2 separate regions of the Homo sapiens genome follow, and region 1 is linked to region 2. Evidence: promoter capture Hi-C in human tissues and cell types (Jung and others, 2019). All regions are on one chromosome and are shown on one strand. Each heading gives the region's core, a stretch centred on a gene start or on the middle of the fragment in contact. The rest is flanking DNA. Distances are from core to core; before and after follow the strand shown.

What was found. Contacts are between HindIII fragments. The study calls those that stand out against the background at their distance.
Region 1: a fragment that was not itself captured here is called in contact with the fragment with the promoter of MFSD8 in region 2 in 1 of the 25 tissues and cell types used here (H1 embryonic stem cells).

What each region holds. Positions count from the first base shown.
Region 1 is chr4:127,629,533-127,633,692 of GRCh38, forward strand. INTU (inturned planar cell polarity protein) reads left to right here and starts at 3,425. Exons shown (of 16, transcript NM_015693.4): 1 at 3,425-3,648. The coding sequence starts at 3,503. RefSeq lists enhancers at 3,073-3,612, 3,275-3,454. The HindIII fragment of the contact is 3,914 bases long and covers 312-4,160 here.
Region 2 is chr4:127,963,435-127,967,526 of GRCh38, forward strand. MFSD8 (major facilitator superfamily domain containing 8) reads right to left here and starts at 1,739. Exons shown (of 12, transcript NM_001371596.2): 1 at 1,638-1,739. The coding sequence starts at 1,699. ABHD18 (abhydrolase domain containing 18) reads left to right here and starts at 1,972. Exons shown (of 13, transcript NM_001358451.3): 1 at 1,972-2,172. RefSeq lists silencers at 696-805, 916-1,045, 1,056-1,105, 2,226-2,455 and enhancers at 1,546-1,965, 1,556-2,171, 2,850-3,351, 3,352-3,851. The HindIII fragment of the contact is 8,084 bases long and covers 1-4,092 here.

The DNA of each region.
Region 1 (4,160 bases), core at 1,019-3,518, 330 kb before region 2:
CGTTCAGCTGGCAAGGTTGCAGCCTACTTACCAGACGATAAACACTGTCACATGGAGACTGCCTCAGCTTCCTGCCTGAAACTGGCAAGTCACCATCCACACCAGCACCCTTCTTTGGCTCTTTCTTCTAGTTTTAGGGAAGAGGTGTCCAGGGAGGTCATATCCCTCCTTCTGTGCCTTGGATGCTATCCCCTCCTACCACCTCAAGGACCTCCTGTTACCAGAAAGGGGTCCCAATCCAGACCCCAAGAGAGTTCTTGGACCTTACCCAAGAAAGAATTCGGGGCAAGTTCATAGAGTAAATTGAACGCAAGTTTATTAAGAAAGTAAAGGAAAAAAGAAGGGCTACTCCATAGGCAAAGCAGCGGCATGGGCTGCTTGACTGAGTATACTTATAGTTATTTCTTGATTATATGCTAAACAAGGGGTGGATTATTCATGAGTTTTCTGGGAAAGGGGGAGTAGTACCCAGAACTGAGGGGTCTTCCCTTTTTTAGAATATATTAGATAACTTCCTGACATTGCCATGGCGTTTGTAAACTGTCATGATGCTGATGGGAGTGTCTTTTAGCAACTAATGCTCATTATCCTCACTGCTCACTGTACTCTAATTATGATTCGCGTATAGTGAGCAGTGAGGATGACCAGAGGTCACTTTTGTAGCCATCTTGGTTTTGGTAAGTTTTGGCTGGCTTCTTTACCGCAGCCTGTTTTATCAGCAAGGTCTTTGTGACCTGTATCTTGTGCCGACCTCCTATCTTGTCCTGTGACTAAGAATGCCTAACCTCCTGAGTAGCAGCCCAGTAGGTCTCAGCCTTATTTTACCCAGCCCCTATTCAAGATGGAGTCGCTCTGGTTCAAATGCCTCTGACACTCCTTTTGCCCATTACCCCTTTACAAACTCCTCCTCCTGTTCTTCAACTTTAGTAACATATAGACCTCTTTTAAGGAAAAACTATTGTGGATTTCCATGGATGACTTAAGTTTTTTAATTATAATTTTAAATAAATGAGGTATAATCTGTGCTTTATAGCTCCTATATAAGATGAAAACAATTTTATGAATTAATACAAATAAATTACAAAATGTAATCGCTGTTATAACACTATAAAAACACATTTAGAAATTAAAACAAAACCATAAAACCTAGGAAATTCAAATGTATATAGTTTAATGTACATTTGTACATGTAATATACAAATTCAAATGTACATAGTTTAATGTATATTTGTACATGTAATGTACAGTTAATGTAAATACAACTAAACTTCAGCTTAAAAGTATAAGCTGCATACTGCAGCTTGTTTGGCTGTGAGGAAGGTAAAATATACTATCCTGGCCATTTAAGTTTAATACACTTGAAAAACAGCAAGTGCCTTTGTGCTGCTTCTTAAAAGCAACAGATGAAGCTCCCATGTGAAAGACACCCTCCCTATACTAGAAAAATGTAACATTCTTATTCTCAAGGGCATAGAAGTGAAACCAAGAGAATTCTGTACAGACCTTGTTAAAATAACTTATCTTTTAAGCTTCCCAATTTAGTTTAGTTGCTTCTTCACAACTAACTATTCTTTGTCCAATCCAGTATATAAGTTAACTGACTCTAACTGCTTCTTTGGGTCTTCATTTCTTTATGAGGGCTCCCCTGCCATGTAAAACTTGGATTCTAGAGCAAGGAGAGAGGTCTGTCTGCCAGGCTCAAATTTGCGAGGTGGGAGTGGGTTCCAGCCTATTCAGGGAATGGCCAGTTGGCCTGTATAGATGAAGCACAGAACTGAGAGAAAATTTAGGGCAGTTCCCCAAGTTTGCTGAATCACAGGGGGCACTTGTTTGAAATAGAGATTTCCAGGCCCCTCCACTGGAGATTCTGATCCTGTTGATGTGGAGCAGGGCCTCAACATCTGTATAACAAGTTCCAGTTGCTTTTCTTTTGTTAATCTATTTTAGGTAAGTTTAATTCTCAGGCCCAGCTGGGACCCTAAGAAGATGGAGGTAGAGTTTTTCTGCCCCTGCAACAGCTACAATTCAGGTTCCTTTGAGTTCTCCATGCATATACCCATACCGGCCATGTGATGACTCATCTCCCATTACTCTTTCTCTGTTGGAACCATGCCATAATAACAATATAAATTAATACTTCCTCTAAGAAATTTGTCATGGCCCCACGTATACTACTTTGGTTTTTTCTGGATATTCCATTAGAACCTTGTATTTATTGTAATACTTATCACTATGTTATAATTGCCCATTAGAGAATCCCCAGCACCCAGCCTTTTAGATCATAAAATAACATTATATCCTTTTTTTACACGCTGCAACATGAACATTTCCCCCATGCTTTACTCTTTGAACACATTCTAGTTAAAATCATAATCATCATATTTTATATATATTTAACTTTTCCCCCATTATTTGACATTTTAAGATTGCTTTCAGCTTTTCACTTTTACAAATTTTATAAATTTGCATCCTTTCTCAGAGTAGATATCTAATAGTTGAATTACTGGGTTCTGAGGGAGGAAATTTCATGTAATGGTTATTGACTTAGGTTCATTTCTTGGTTGACTTTGTTGACTGCTAGCCATGTAACCATTAGTAAGATGCATAACTTCTCTAAAGCTTAGTTTCCTTATTTAATATAGAGAAAATATTTACTTCATAGTATGTGAATGCTCAGCATTGTATATGAATAAAGTGAGCAGAGCCAAGGCTGACTCTCAATCAATGCTAGCTGTTATTTTTGTACTTAAAAAATACTTGATATAGGTATTCATAAATAACAGGTAGATTTTACCTGTTTACACTTCCAACTTTAATAATGAGAACACTTAATTAGATTATAAAATTTTGAGTTAGAAAATGAACATGAAGTTGATTCCACAGGATTGCCACTCATTTGTGGCACTCTACAATACCCACTTGGGATAACCGTGAAAATGTTTGCAATTGCGAAACAATATGAAACCCATAAAACAATGGAGCGTATTTACATTAACACCTAGATCGCGTTGCTTAAAAGCGTCCATTACTTGCACGGATGAGGTCCTAAGGAAAGGTAAAGTGCGGTTTCCTTCACCTCGAAGGAAATCCAGGCTGACCGACAGCTGTTAGGCATTAGAAACACAGGACAAAGAGCAAACTGGATATCCAGCACTGGAAGAAAAAGGTGAGAAGCCCAGTGCATCTCCGCCTGTTTTAACAGGTTATGCTGCTCTAAGGAATTGCGTTCCGGAGAGCGTAAGCGGTGAAGTTTTAGCTATTTCTATCCTTCCAACTGAGAAGCCCTCCTGGAAGTTTCAGCCCATTGGCTGCTTTCTGTTCTCCCTGTTTCTTCTGGGAAGCTTCTCCGTCTCCCTGGCAACGCGACCTGCCACCAATTGCAGCTAAGGATTGGTGGTCACATGGCCTCTGCCCCTTCCCAAGCAGAGGCAACATGGCGGCCTTAGCAAGCTATAGCTGCGAGATTTGAATTACTCCACTCGTAGCTATTGCATTCCTGACGATGGCCTCTGTGGCTTCGTGCGATTCGCGTCCGAGCTCAGACGAGCTCCCTGGAGACCCCTCTTCACAAGAAGAAGATGAGGACTATGATTTTGAAGATCGGGTCAGCGACTCGGGTTCATATTCCTCAGCGAGTAGCGATTATGAGTAAGGTTTTCAAAGAGGGACAATTAATCCCATCCCATCAATCCAGAGAATATACACGTGGGCTGGGGGAACTGCAAGGGTGTTGGCGTGGTTGGAATCGAGTATTTGGGGTTCTATAATAAGTGGGATTTAATTGCACCACGTTCCATTGTATGGTGGTGTGAGCAGAAATGACGATGCCATTCTTTGCTACTGTAGGTTGTTTTTTGTTTGTTTTGTTTTGTTTTTTCAATGATTCTTAGATGAGGAGAATCTCCTCTTTTTGGTCATGGGCTCTGTCTAGGCCATAGGAGGATATATCTGTAACAGCGTTCAAAAAACTCTGTTTCGATCGCAGTGTCTTGATTCTTTGGTGTGACCTTTGTGGCTTAATCTCTTTAGTATTTGGAGTGGAGAGACACCCTACGCGTTTTATAAGGCAGTTGTTAAATTTATGTAGATTTTTTCTGTTATGGAAATGAATAGCTATATAACAGAAGGAACGCCCACCCATAGTCTCACCATCAAGGACA
Region 2 (4,092 bases), core at 489-2,988:
GACCCTCGCGGTGAGTGTTAACAGCTCTTAAGGTGGCACGTCTGGAGTTTGTTCCTTCTGATGCTCAGATGTGTTCAGAGTTTCTTCCTTCTGGTGGGTTCGTGGTCTCGCTGGCTCAAGAGCGAAGCTGCAGACCTTCGTGGTGAGTGTTACAACTCTTAAGGCGGCGCGTCTGGAGTTGTTCGTTCCTCCCCGTGGTCTCGCTGGCTTCAGGAGTGAAACTGCAGACCTTCGCGGTGAGTGTTACGGCTCATAAAAGCCGTATGGTCCCAAAGAGTGAGCAGTAGCAAGATTTATCGCAAAGAGCGAAAAAACAAAGCTTCCACACTGTGGAAAGGGACCTCAGCGGGTTGCCACTACTGGTGGGCAGCCTGCTTTTATTCTCTTATCTGGCCCCACCCACATCCTGCTGATTGGTAGAGCCGAGTAGTCTGTTTTGACAGGGCGCTGATTGGTGCGTTTACAATCCCTGAGCTAGACACAAAGGTTCTCCACGTCCCCACTAGATTAACTAGATACAGAGTGTTGACAGAAAGGTTCTCCAAGGCCCCACCAGAGTAGCTAGATACAGAGTGTCGACTGGTGCATTCACAAACCCTGAGCTAGACACAGGGTGCTGATTGGTGTGTTTACAAACCTTGAGCTAGATACAGAGTGCCGATTGGTGTAGTTACAATCCCTGAGCTAGACATAAACGTTCTCCACGTCTCCACCAGACTCAGGAGCCCAGCTGGCTTCGCCCAGTGGATCCCGCACCGGGGCTGCAGGTGGAGCTGCCTGCCAGTCCCGCGCCGTGCACCCGCACTCCTCAGCCCTTGGGTGGTCGATGGGACTAGGCACCGTGGAGTAGGGAGCGGCGCTCATCGGGGAGGCTCGGGCCGCACAGGAGCCCACGGAGTGGGTGGGAGGCTCAGGCATGGCGGGCTGCAGGTCCCGAGCCCTGCCCCGCGGGAAGGCAGCTAAGGCCCGGCGAGAAATCGAGCGCAGCGCCAGTGGGCTGGCACTGCTGGGGGACCCAGCACACCCTCCGCAGCCGCTGGCCCGGGTGCTAAGCCCCTCATTGCCCGGGGCCGGCAGGGCCGGCCTGCTGCTCCCAGTGCGGGGCCCGCCAAGCCCACGCCCACTCGGAACTCCAGCTGGCCCGCAAGCGCGGCGCGCAGCCCCGGTTCCCGCTCACGCCTCTCCCACCACACCTCCCTGCAAGCTGAGGGAGCCGGCTCCCACCTTGGCCAGCCCAGAAAGGGGCTCCCACAGTGCAGCGGTGGGCTGAAGGGCTCCTCAAGTGCCGCCAAAGTGGGAGCCCAGGCAGAGGAGGCCTGGAGAGCGAGCAAGGGCTGTGAGGACTGCCAGCACGCTGTCACCTCTCAGCTTGGGTGCTGCAACAGGCAAAGCAGCAGCCTGGGTTTCTCCAGCCCCGTCACTCGAACCCACGGGCTCATCACCGCACGGTGCGGCCAGACGCCCTTTCTCCTACGTTGGGAGCGAATCTCCTCGGCTCACACAACCCAGCCACCGGCTCCCACCGCGCTGGAACCCCTCTGGCAGCGAGGGTTTGTCCCAGTGCGGGTGACGCCCGGAAAGGAACCAGTCCCAACAGCGCAGGAGACTGAGGGGTCCCTCCACCAGGATCCGCTCACCTGCTTCCAGGTGTGTCGCCTAAGAGCGGCTCCTGTTCACTTTCGTTCCGCAGGCCGGCCATAGTTACACTCCCTACAAGGCGTCTTGCGCCCAACTCTCGCGACACCTGCTTTCTCCCATCCCGGGTGGCGTGAAGCTGGCAAAACAAGCCTGTAAGTGCGCGTGCGCACCTGACGGTCAGACGTAGGCGGAACGCCCCGAGGTCATAGGCGGGGTCACGCGGAAGGCCGGGCAGCGCAGGGCGAAAGGAGGCTGTGTCCTCAGCCTCCTCCCTCGGCACGCGCCTCCCATCCTGACGGGGACTGAGAGCCCAGGAGAGCTCGGGGCGTGTCCAAACTGCCGCGCCGCCCTGCTCCGGGTTTGTCTTCCTCCCTCCGTTTCTCCTTCCGCTGTATCTAGCATTTCGGTTCCTGGAAAGGTTACCGGAGCTGCGATTGGGGCTGGGACCAAAGTTGAGTCCTGGAAAGGGAGCCTGGAGAGCGGCGGTGCTGGGAGGCCCGGCCAGCTCGATCGCAGGCTTCCACCTGGCGGCCAGTAAGTAGCCGGTCCGGTTAAGTAGTAGGTGCGCTAAGAGCTCCCCGCGCCTCTTAGCGCGCCGTGTACGCGCCTGGAGGCAGGGACCGGGGACGCGGAGCTGGGCGGGAGACTCGCGGGTCAGGGACGCGGGGTGAGGCTGGGGGTGAGAGACAAGGCTGGAGTCCGTGGCGCGCTTCGGAGGGCTGAGATAATGGGGGCGAGCGCGCGGGCAGTCCCTTCCCCCCGTGAAAGGTAGAGGTGGCTTCCAGCTCTCTTCTCTAGCTCGGCTAAATGCAAAGGCGCCTTACCTGGAGGGCTTGTCAGAGCCAGGACTGAAGGTGGGATCTGCTGCTTGTAACCTGCAGGTCCCCGGATGCGCACCCCAACGGCGCCTGCGCCTACGGGGGCCTCAGCCTTGCAAAATGTCACTCAGCAGAGCCTGCTGCTGAAACGTGGGAGTTGAAAAAGGTACAGCACCTGCCTAGCAATGACCAGCTCCTTTCGTCACAAGGAAGATGACATTTTTAGAAAACATGTCATGGGTTTTCACTAGATCTCCATGTTTATTTCTTGGTGGTTATGTATTAACATCTTATCTCTACTATTAGGCTTGTAGGCTAGCTGGCGTCAGTAGTCATTCTGTGTCTCATAAATTACCGTTTTATTAGCGCCAGATACATTGTCATGTAATTTCATTTGATCACAAGTATCCTATGAGATAGGCGAAGCAGACACATTGCTAGTTTACTGAAAATTAAGATCCAGACAAGTTAACCCAGAGTCACTCTGTGTGGAAGTGGCAAAGTTGGAAACCAAACTTAATTTTTTTAAATTAATATTTATGAGCATTTACCCTATGCTAGGTCCTATACTAGTTACACAGTCATGTATGGTATATGCCATCACTTCTGATCTTTGTGTCATTTGTGACCTTGTGTGTATCAGCCAGGCGCAGTTCACTGGTGAACACCTAAACTTGAAACGTGCGGTCTGGGTGCGATGGTTCATGCCTGTAATCCCAGCACCTTGGGAGGCCAAGGCGGGCGGATCACGAGGTCAGGAGATCGAGACCATCCTGGCTAACACGGTGAAACCCCGTCTCTACTAAAAATACAAAAAAAAAAAAAAAAAAAAAAAAAAAAAAAAAAAAGCCGGGCGTGGTGGCGGGCGCCTATAGTCCCAGCTACTCGGGAGGCTGAGGCAGGAGAATCCCTTGAACCCGGGAGGCGGAGGCTGCAGTGAGCCGAGATCACGCCACTGCACTCCAGCCTGGGCAACAGAGTGAGATTCTGTCTCAAAAAAAAAAAAAAAACCAAAAACCTTGAAACGTGCTATTCAGAAATATCTTCTAAATCAAGACCTGATATTTTGTACTTGGATTCAGTCTTGCAGATTCATTTGTAACAGCTCACAAAAACAAGTCAGATTTGTATTATTGGTTCCAAAAAGACACATAGGTAGAAAAGTTAGTATTTTCTTGCCATAATGTCGCTTTATTATATTGTCTTTTTTAATTCCTGGGGGCTAGCAATGTATGGCACATATATAGTGGACAAGGGGATTTTTAACCAGTATAGCAGTAAGCAGAATGGCTCCTAGATAAATATATGTTGGATGAATGCTCATTGAATTACTTCATCTCATCCTTACAACAATCCTCTGAGGGGGGAATTGTCTCATGTGTACAAGGAAATGGAAGGCAGGGAGATTAAGTAACTTGCCTAGGATCATACTACTAACAAGCAACAGAGCTAGAATTCAAGAAATGCAGGACTCCTGATCCTAAGCCTGTGCTCTTTACCACCAGGCTTCTTATGGGAAAAAATGGCAAAGCGGCAAGAAGAATCTTTCCTTATATCTCATAAAAATATATAGTAGATATTCAGTTTTTATCTAAGTGAAATAATTGGCTATCATGTATCAGGGCAGATATTACTT